Regions from separate parts of the Homo sapiens genome. Here region 1 is linked to region 2. Evidence: promoter capture Hi-C in human tissues and cell types (Jung and others, 2019). All regions are on one chromosome and are shown on one strand. The core of a region is centred on a gene start or on the middle of the fragment in contact, and the rest is flanking DNA. Distances in the headings are between cores, read along the strand shown.

The links. The method cuts DNA at HindIII sites, captures the fragments that hold promoters and counts their contacts. A contact is called where the count stands out against the background at its distance.
Region 1: a contact is called between a fragment that was not itself captured here and the fragment with the promoter of IGF2BP2 in region 2, in 3 of the 25 tissues and cell types used here (IMR-90 fibroblasts, adrenal gland and mesenchymal stem cells).

The regions. Positions count from the first base shown.
Region 1 is chr3:185,875,411-185,880,457 of GRCh38, forward strand. No RefSeq gene overlaps it. Among named protein-coding and RNA genes, the nearest start is that of IGF2BP2, 53 kb to the left of the region's middle. The HindIII fragment of the contact is 7,069 bases long and covers 1-4,919 here.
Region 2 is chr3:185,821,904-185,827,454 of GRCh38, forward strand. It overlaps IGF2BP2 (insulin like growth factor 2 mRNA binding protein 2), which reads right to left and starts at 3,139. Exons shown (of 16, transcript NM_006548.6): 1 at 2,880-3,139; 2 at 1,250-1,310. The coding sequence starts at 3,057. RefSeq lists an enhancer at 1,142-2,005 and silencers at 2,945-3,175, 3,187-3,456, 3,867-3,956. The HindIII fragment of the contact is 4,290 bases long and covers 1,488-5,551 here.

The DNA.
Region 1 (5,047 bases), core at 135-2,634, 52 kb after region 2:
GGTTCAAGTGATTCTCCTGCCTCAGCCTCCTGAGTAGCTGGGACTACAGGTGCCTGCCACCGCGCCCGGCTAATTTTTGTATTTTTAGTAGAGATGGGGTTTCCCCATGTTGGCCATGCTGGTCTTGAACTCCTGACCTCAAATGATCCACCCACCTCGGCCTTCCAAAGTTTTGAGATTACAGGAGTGAGTCACTGTGCCCAGCCATGTAGTGACACTTCCAATTCAAACTCAGGAATACAGGATTTTTTCTTAACCTCATCTACCTTAATCTACTTCTTTTCTTCCTCCACCAAAAAATCGGTATAACCACGCTGTTGCTTTATCTCAAAATGCACACACAACAATCTTAGAATAACAGCACTGACATTAACACAAACATGATTGTTAAAAATGAATTTGGATTTTTTTTTTCCAATTGTTTTTATCCTTAGGGTATATCCCACTAAGAATATACATTCAAATTAGAGCATTTTAAACTCATTTGAAATAATTCATATTTGTATGGTTATACCACCAACTCAACATACATAAATTAGGGTTGTTTATCTCATTTTGCTTTTGATATTTTGGAGTTTTTTTTTTTAAATACATATTTTGGCTGGCATAGTGGCGCACACCTGTAATCTCAGTGCTTTGGGAGGATCACTTGAGGCAAGTTCAAGGCCAGCCTGGGCAACATAGCAAGACCTTGTCTCTACAAAAAAAATTTAAAAATTGGCCGGGCATTGTAACTCACGCCTGTAATCCCAGCACTTTGGGAGGCTGAGGCAGACAGATTGCTTTGAGCTTAGGAGTTCAAAATCAGCCTGGGCATCACGGTGAAACCCTGTCTCTATTTAAAAAAATAAAAATAAGCCGGGTGTAGTGGTGCACACCTGTAGTCCTAGCTACTCAGGAGGCTGAAAAGGGAAGATTGCTTGCTTGAGCCCAGCAGGTTGAGGCTGCAGTGACCTATGGTCATGCCACTGCCCTCTAGCCTGGGCAACAGAGTGAGACCCTATCTCTGAAAAAAATAAAAAATAAAAACAAAATACATATTTTATGCTTATATAAAATGTTTACATGATTCCATGGTCAAATGTGTAAAACAAGATGTATTCGGAAGGGTTTTTCGATCCCTGTCTCCTCTATCCTTTCCTTCCCTCTAGCATACCATACACAGTTTTGGGGGTTTCTTTTTTCATTTGCTAATATGTCCAGAGCACCTATACTATATATACTGCTATATATACTATAGCAGTATATATAGGTATTCCTTATTGCTTTTTTTGTTTTTTTGTTTTTTTGGTTTTTTTTGAGATGGAGTCTTGCTCTTGTCACCCAGGCTGGAATGCAGTGGCGCAATCTCGGCTCACTGCAACTTCTGCCTCCTGGGTTCAAGTGATTCTCCTGCCTCCCTAGTAGCTGGGATTACAGATGCCGCCACCATGCCTGGCTAATTTTTGTATTTTTAGTAGAGATGGGGTTTCTCCATGTTAGCCAGGCTGGTCTTGAACTCCTGACCTCAGGCGATCCACCTGCCTTGGCCTCCCAAAGTGCTGGAATTACAGACATGCTCCACCATGCCCGGCCCCTCATGGCTTTTTACATCTGCGCAGTATTCTATTATATACCATAATTAATTCCATCAGTTCCCTCCTAAAAGATACTCGGATTCTTTCTAGTCTTTTGTTATTATACTTAATTAAGTACTGAAGTACTGATCTTTTCAGATATTTTGTTGAGATATTGGAGCTACCCATACCCAAGTTTGTTGGCTGTCTTCAGGGAAAGTACTAAGCAAGTTGTATGGACCTAGAAACAAGACTCGATACTCACTTTTTTTTTTTTTTTGAGGCAGAATCTCACTCTGTTGCCCAGATTGGAGTGCAGTGGCGCGGTTTCAGCACACTGCAACCTCCGCCTCTCAGGATCAAGCGATTTTCCTGCCTCAGCCTCCCATGTAGCTGGGATTACAGGCATATGCCACGACACCTGTCTAATTTTTGTATTTTTAGTAGAGATGGGGTTTCTCCATGTTGGCCAGGCTGGTCTCCAACCCGTGACCTCAGGTGATCCACCCGCCTTGGCCTCCCAAAGTGCTAGGATTATAGGCGTGAGCCACCGTGCCCGGCCTTTTTTTTTTTTTTTTTCAGTAGAGATGAAGTCTCACTATGTTGCCCAAGCTCATCTTGAACTCCTGGCATCCAGGGTTTCAAACGTGCTCCTCCCACCTCGGCCTGCCAAAGTGCTGGGAGCCCAGCCCACGTTTTTATAATCACAGTGTTTTCCAATTTTTGTTTTTGTAGTGTTTATTGAAAATTCTCTATATTGTATTTAATATACAATAATAAGCTTCATTTTTAAAAATTTTTAATTTTTTTTTTTTTTTTTTTTGATACAGAGTCTTGCTCTGCCTCCCAGGCTGGAGTGCAATGGTGCCATCTCAGCTCACTGCAACATCTGCCTCCCAGCTTCAAGCGATTCTCCTGCCTCAGCCTCCCGAGTAGCTAGGACTACAGGCATGCATCACCACGCCTGGTTAATTTTTGTATTTTTAGTAGAAACAGGGTTTCGCCATGTCGGCCAGGCTGGTCTTGAATTCCTGGCCTCAAGTGATCCACCCGCCTTGGTCTCCCAAAGTGCTGGGATTACAGGCGTGAGCTACCACACCCGGCACATTAATCTTTTTTTTTTTTTTTTTGAGATGGAGTCTTACTCTTGTTGCCCCCGCTGGAGTGCAATGGCACGATCTTAACTCACTGCAACCCTCGCCTCCCAGGTTCAAGTGATTCTCCTGCCTCAGCCTCCTGAGTAGCTGGATTACAGATGCCCATCACCACGCCCAGCTAATTTTTGTATATTTAGTACAGATAGGGTTTTACCATGTTGGGCAGGCTAGTCTCAAACTCCTGACCTCAGGTGATCCGCCCACCCTCCCAAAGTGCTGGGATTACAGGGGGAGCCGCCGTGCCCAGCCAATCTTTTTGTTGTTGTTGTTTTGAGATGGAGTCTCACTCTGTTGCCCAGGCTGGAGTACAGTGGCACGATCTCAGCTCATCAAAGCCTCCACCTCCTGGGTTCAAGCAATTCTCCTGCCTCAGCCTCCTGAATAGCTGGGATTACAGGCATGAGACGCTGCGCCTGGCTAAATTTTGTATTTTTAGTAGAGATAGGGTTTCACCATGTTGGTCAGGCTGGTCTTGAACTCCTGACCTCAGGTGATCTGCCCGCCTCGGCCTCCCAAAGTGCTGGGATTACAGGCATGAGCCACTGCGCCTGGCCTCTGCTAATCTTTAATACAAATTTTGATATATTTTTACTTTGTCACACATAGCAACATATATTCTTTTTGAAAAATTTGTTTCTTATGTATTTTTATATTACACCACAATGTAAAAATATATTTCTTGTGAGTCATAGTCAAATGATACAATCTAAAGAGGATGGAATATCCATAAGTATCGATAATTTAGGATTTTTGTTTTATTTTGTTTTCAATTCCTTAACCCCAACCCCTCTGAAGCTAGAGGCACTGACCTTCACACTCCAAGAAATCTTGTTCTCTGCTCTGCTCCAGGCTTGGTGTCCTGCTGCCCGCCCAGTCTCCTGCGGTGCCTGCACAGTCTTCTGCACTTCCACCTGCACTGTGCGTGGACAGACTGGCTGTTGCAGTCTGTCATCTTGTCATTCCTGTGGCTGATGAGGTGGAGGAAGGACTTCTCCCACAAGGTCTGTAATCTTTTAAAGGGACAGTAAGATACCACAGTCTCGCCCCCTTATTCCTTTTGGCATGTCAACTATTACAACTCTGTTTGTTAAAACATTCACGTATCCCAGGCTGGGTGCAGTGGCTGATGCCTGTAATCCCAGCACTTTGGAAGGCTGAGGTGGGAGGATCACTGGAGGTCAGGAGATCAAGACCAGCCTGAACAACACGGTGAAACCCCGTCTCTACTAAAGATACAAAAATTAGCCCGGTGTGGTAATGCGCACCTGTAATTCCAGCTACTCAGGAGGCTGAGGCATGAGAATCGCTTGAACCTGGGTGGCAGAGGTTGGAACCTCAGGCGTGAGCTGAAATCGTGCCACTGCACTCCAGCCTGGGTGATAACAGTGAAACTCCATCTCAAAAATAATAATAATAATAATTAAAACAAAAAAACCAGGCCAGGCGCGGTGGCTCACGCCTGTAATCCCAGCACTTTGGGAGGCTGAGGCAGGAAGATCACGAGATCAGGAGTTCAAGACCAGCCTGGCCAAGATGGTGAAACCCCACCCCTACTAAAAATAAAAAAACTAGCCGAGCATGGTGGTGGATGCCTGGTATCCTAGCTACTCAGGAGGCTGAGGCAGAGAATTGCTTGAACCTGGGAGGCAGAGGTTGCAGTGAGCTGAGATCTCGCCACTGCACTCCAGCCTGGGTGACAGAGCGAGACTCCATCTCAAAAAAAAAAAAAAAAAAAAAATTGACCTGCGTTCAAATTAGCCCTGATTCTGTGACAGAAATAAAAGTACGTCTACTTTACTGAGAAGGCAAAGGCGGAGAGACCACTTAGGAGATTGTTGCTGTGTGTCCAGATAAGAAGGGGTGGTGGCTTGCGCAGTGTATTGGCAGAGAGGGGGCGCAATGGACCCATTCACTAGGTATGTACAAGATGGACTCAACAGAACTGAATGACTGAGGGGATGAGAGGCCAGGGGAGAACAGAAGTTAATGATACTTCTAGGCTTCCAGGTAAAACATGTGGGAGAGGGAGGGGGACAAACACAGAAATAGAGGATGTAGGCGGAGGAGCCAGTTTGGGGAAGAAGCTGGTGATTCAGCTTGAGCACAGTGAGTTTTAGATGCCAGGAAGACATCCATGGAGGGAAGCCCTGTGGCCACCTTCATACATAGACCTGAAGCTGGGCATACAGAGAAGGGAGCTAACTGCTAACTATGACAATGGAAGCCACAGTCAGAAATTAGCATGTTTCAGGAGAGGGTGAGAAGAGAAAACGGCCTCAGGCAGAACCCTGAGGGACGTCATATTTACAGGTGGATAAAAGGAGAATCCAGCTA
Region 2 (5,551 bases), core at 1,889-4,388:
GAAAACCAATTGGTTACACGTTACATCTTTCCCAATAGAGGAAAGAACTAGCTTAATATTACACATGAAACTGCAAATCATAACTCACCTTTTTTAAATTAAAAAAAAAACAGGATTTAAGTAATTTTCTCATATGCCACAGAGATTATTTGCAAACAAAAGTTATTCTGTTGCTTACTTAAAATAAAACATATCTGGAAATGTGGCACACAATTTTTAAAAATCCCTTCAGCAACACATCTAAGTATTTATAAAATTAGGGTAGTTTGTTTTAAAATCTACTCAATCCTGACAAAAATCAGGTGGTTAAACTATTGACTGATAAACTGTAAAGGTGGTCATCAAAAACTTCATTGAACAGCTCCAGTCCAGCTACTTAATGACTAATGGTGAAGAAATGTATGTGAATGGGATATAAACTAAGTTTCGACACACAGCAGAAGAAAAAAATTTAGAATGAGTAATAAAGGGCCCAAATTTAAAGTCCACAATAAACTTTAAACAAAGATGTTTTCTCTTCTCTTCTCATGTTAGCAAATCACTGTGGAGAAATCCAACCTCCACAAAACTTGTTACTCCGTCATTAACAACAGTGCACTTAAATATAACTATAGATTTCACAAGGGTATTTATTTTAGCCGCAAACATTTCTTACAAGCAACAACAACAAAATGCTCAGAAGCTATACTCAGTAGTCTCAGTGACTGAAAAAGTCCGGCTTTTAACTGCCATCCAATCCAAACAACCCACTTCTTTAGAAAGCTATGCAAAATATTGACCCCTTACTGAATTATTTTACTATTCAACATTAAACTATCTAAAAGAGAAAAGTAATTAATCGCTAAGTTTAGTTAAGCAATTTAGCTGACATAGTAAATATTTACTCTTCACATCTCACAGGAAGTCTTGACAAGCATTTGCTGCTATTCTGCTGGGGGTAGGGGCGGGAGGTGGGGGTGGGAGGCAATTTTTGATAAACAAGTTACAGGGTCCCAGCGAACTGAACATAGCTGGTGTTCGCCACCCCGACCCCCAATTAGGCACCAGATATTTTCCAAGAACAGTAAACACCTTATATAATGAAAGTAAAAAAAAAAAAAGTAGCTTTCTAAACTATGTATCTCCACTAACAAAACAAACAAAAGCCCCTTTAAAAACTACCAAGAGCACGTTTTTTAAAGCTGTGTGTACGTTTTTTACTTATACGTAAGGCCAATCGCAAAAAAAAAACTAAGCAAAGTATATTTACCTTAGCTTTTTAGAGACTGAGTAATCAACTTCCATGATTTTCCCATGCAATTCCACTTTACCTTTAAAACAGAAATTAAAGCACTCAGAACCTTGCTTAGATCAAGCCCGCGGGGGTCTAGGGGGGGCACGCACGGAACTCCACGCTCGGGCTCCGCCTTCGGGCGCCCCCAAGGGGTCTCCTACCCGGATCGAGCTGGGCGAACTTGGTTCCCAGTAGAAAGAAAGGTGGGCGCCCCGTGTCTCGGGACAAGGCGAGGAGGGTGCGAGCCCGGGTCGGACCCCAGGTATAGCCGTGGGTGGCATTACCGGAAAAACAAATTTAATAAAGAGCGGCGCCAATTTGAAAGGATGAGCTCATTTGAAACTCAAGCTGCAGGGCTGGCGCGGCCCCGCTGCTCTCCCGGCCCCCACCTCTCCATTCCGCTAATCCGGGGCCCGAAGGCTCCACCGGGCTCCCCTCCCTGCCCTCTCCTCCCGGTGGCCCCGAGAAAACGAGCCGAAGCCCCCCGGAGTCCGCCGCAGCGACAGCCCTGTCCCTGCCCGCTCCTGGGTGTCACCTTGGCCTCGCCGCCGCCCCGCCCCCACTCCACACGCCGGTGGGGAAGGGGCTCCCGCCGGGCCGGGGTTCGGGGGGCGCCGGCCGGGGCCCGGGGGCCCGCGCGGCTGGGAGCGGAGCGTGTGCTGGGGAGAGTTGGGGAGTGCGCGCGCGCGAGTGTGTGTGTGTGTCGCTCTCCGTCTCCTGTCTGGGCTCCAGCGCGCTCGCGGGCCCCCCGGTCGCCTCTTTCCCGGTTCTCAACCCTGGCCCCCACCGAGTTGAGACAGGGCACCTCGTAAAAAGGTGCTTCTGGCCGAGCGGGAGGCGGGGGGACGGGCGGCGGAAAGCCCCCAGCCCCGAGTTCTTCTCAATAAAATCGGACAAAAAATTCAGAGAAAAATAGGAGCGCTTGAGAGAGCAAGCGAGAGGGGACTGAGGTTCGGGAAAGGACCGAGGGGATGTGCCGTCGTGCGAGGGCTGGGGCTGGGGGAGCCCCGAGATCTCGAAGGGGGTCACCAGGGTGGCGCCGAGGGGGTGCCAAAAGTGGGGGGCCGTGGGGCGAGGTGGGGAGGGGGCTCGAAAGGAGAGTGCGGCTCAGGAGACGCCAGAGGGCGAGAGGTTCTGGGCACGAGGCACTGGAAGAGAGAAGGTCCGGCCGGGGGAGGAGGAAGAGACGCTGGATTTGGGGAAGGGGGGACCCTGACAAAGGGGGTGACAGGAAGGTCAGGGGAGAAGTGAGACAGGGGACGCTCAAAGGGTGGGGGGCGGGGAAGCTCAGAGCAGCCCGGGGCGCCAGGCGAACGAGGGGTGCCCCTAAGGAGCCGGCGAGCCTCGGGAGCCTTCGGAGCGGCACGGGGGGCGCCCCAAGGCTGCGGCCCCGAGGGCGAGGGCAGAGTCCAGAGCTGTGGGGGGAGGGGAGCGGGCCGTCCCAGGAGCGGGCCGGCGGCGAGAGTTGAGGGTCTGGTGCGTGGAAGTGAGCGTGCGGGCGCGGGAGCCGCCGCCGGGCGCCGCCCGCCGGACTCGGCCTCCCTCCCGGCGCCGTCCCGGCCTGAGCGGGGCGAGGCGGGGGGAGGGGGCCGCGCTGAGTGCTCACCCGAGAGGGTCTCGATGGCGCGGATGGCCCAGTTCTGGTCGGGGTAGTCCACGAAGGCGTAGCCGGACTTCAGCAGGACCTGTCCCGCCAGGGGCAGCTTCCTGTCCCCAAAGAGCTGCCGGAGGTCGTCGGCGGTGACGGCGGGGCTCAGGTTCCCGATGTAAAGCTTGTTCATCATCCGTCTCTTCCCCGAGAGCCCGCGGCTCCCCCGGCCCGGTACCCGGCGCTCCTCGCCTCCTCCGCTGCCCTCGTCTCTCCTCCTCCTCCGCCCCCCCTCCCCGCCCTCCGCCCGCCCGCCACCCACCCCCACCCTCAGCCTGGCTCCCCCCACCGCGGCCGGCCCGGCCCGCCCGGGGGCAGAGGCGGAGGCGGGGACTCGGCGCGGCTGCCTCCTCGGGGCAGAGTCCCGGGCCGGGCGGCGGCGCGCGGACAAAGCGCTCTCTCTGCCTCCCTCTCTCTCCCTCTCAAGGCGGTGGCGGGAGGAGGAGCAGCGGCGGGCGGCGGCAGCGCACCCCGCGTGTGTCTGTGTGAGAGTTTGTACGGGCGTGTGCGCAGCCGAGAGGGAGCGAGCGAGCGCCCCCTCCCCGCCCCGCGCCGCTGCGCCCCTCGCCTCGCGCCCACCGCGCTCGGCAGTGGCTGCTCGGGCTCCGGCCCCGCGCCAGGCGGGCGGAAGCGGGTCGCGGCCCCGGGCTGGGGCTCCGGGCGCCGGAACCCCGGGCGGGCGCGGCGCCGAGGCCGGGCGAGCGGCGGGGCGGGGAAGGCGCGCCCCGGGCGCGGGTGGGAGCGCGCGAGGGGGCGACGGGGAGCCGCGGGCGTGGGAGGGAGAGGGGCTGCGAGTGAGCGCGGAGAGGGGTGTGCGCAAGGTGGACCGGATGTGAGTGCGCTGCTGCCAGGGCAAGCGGGAAGGTGTGTCCCGGAGGTGAGAGGCGAGGGCAGGCTGGGAGACAACAACTTTCGCAGCGACTTGGCCGGGGCTGGCGCCCTGCGCGTTCCCGGGCCGTGCGCTCGCTCTGAGACCCGCTCCCCGCCACGCTCTCTGAGGTGACCGAGCGGCGCGTGTGGTCGAAGGATCGCGCGCGGGAGTCGGGACGCCTAGGACCGGGGTTGGCCGGGCCCTCGCGGACCGTGCTCGCGGGGAAGTGGTTCCCGGTCCCGGGCCTCAGTTTCCCGACCGGGGAGGGAAGGCGGAAGGCCAGCGCGGAGTCACGTCCTCTCCGCCCAGACCCCGCGTGTCCGGAACCCCGCGGCAGGCGGCAGCCTGACGTTGGCAGCTGCTCTCTATTCTGGGAAGTGCCGAGGGCTTCCCGGGCGGCGGCGGCGAAAGCCAGGTGGCGGGTGGGGAAACGAACGCCGAGGGGCCAGGGACTGCGGCGAGGCCGGAGCGCTGGGGTCAGCGGCCGGGGGACGGATGGTCGCCGCCCGGCTGCGCGGCCGGTTCAGCTCCAAAGCCAGGGTGGTGGGAGGCGAGGGTGGCTGGAAGCGGAGGAGCGCAGGCTGTGTAGGAGTTCCCCGAGCACTGGGAAGGGCCCGGAGAGGAAAGAGGTCCTTCCAAGCGGAGGAAACAACGTGACCGACGGAAGAGGCAGGGTTGGGATGAGAGCAGGCTGGAGCCGAGGGGCTCGGGCAGGAGCCAGACAGGCTAGAGCGGGCTGCAAGTTCCGGGGCCCGGCTGGAAGCCTGATGGTTAGAGCCTGGTCCCAGCCAGGAAATGAAATTCTACAGGAGGGAGAAGAATGGCGGGATTCAGAGGTGAGGAGGCAGAAGAAGATTCCAAGCTCTGGACCTCTGGGGGCCACTGGGAGAGTTGAAGGTTTGATCGCGGATATGTTGGGTTTTGTGAAGGCGTTGGGGCGCGGGTGCGGGGAGTGTCCTTGGGTGGAGAAGTCACGAATGTAGGAATGGAACAAGTTCGGGTCTCCTGACTGGGTCGTGAAGTAGTATTGTCTTTCCCAAGCTTTCCTGTTGATGAGCGGCGTGGAGAGAATGGGGCTTGCTGGATTTTGTATTTTCCGCAAGTACTCCCAGGTGATTCTGGTCTGGTAAACACTGTTGGAGTGGAAGGCCTATCTGCCCCGGACTCAGACCTTCTCTCTGCCCCCATCTTTGTGCCCTGAGATGTTCCAGCATTCTCGAGCCTAAGTTTCTTCATCTATAAGGAGATAAAATAACCAGTCCTCGCAGGGCTGTTGTGAGGGCTACAAGAAGGATAACTGCCTAGCGTGTTGAGACATGGGTGGTCAGACACTTAATGCCTGTTTCTCTTCTTTCCCCCAGGAATTCATGAACTTTTAAAATACTTTATTCTACAGAAGGAGATCTTCTTAACTAATTAGGTATCCAGAGGAGAAAGTAATGAATCCATTTTCACCTAGATATTTGCAGTTATTTGAATTCTGGCTTTTGTCTCAAGTATTCACATATTTTTTTCTCTCTCTAGAAAAAGAATCGGATTTTACTGCTCCAGGAGTTGAGAATGAACTTGGTTACTAATCCCCAAAGTAATAGATAAACTAGGTGTGGATGCTTCTTTACTAAATTGTATCAGAGAATCACAAATGAACATGACTTGTGCATGCATAAACCTCAGCAGACTGAACTAACCATCTTTAGATTATTTACACATGTGCTCCTAATTGATATGGTCACCTTTATATTATAGGACAGCATATTTG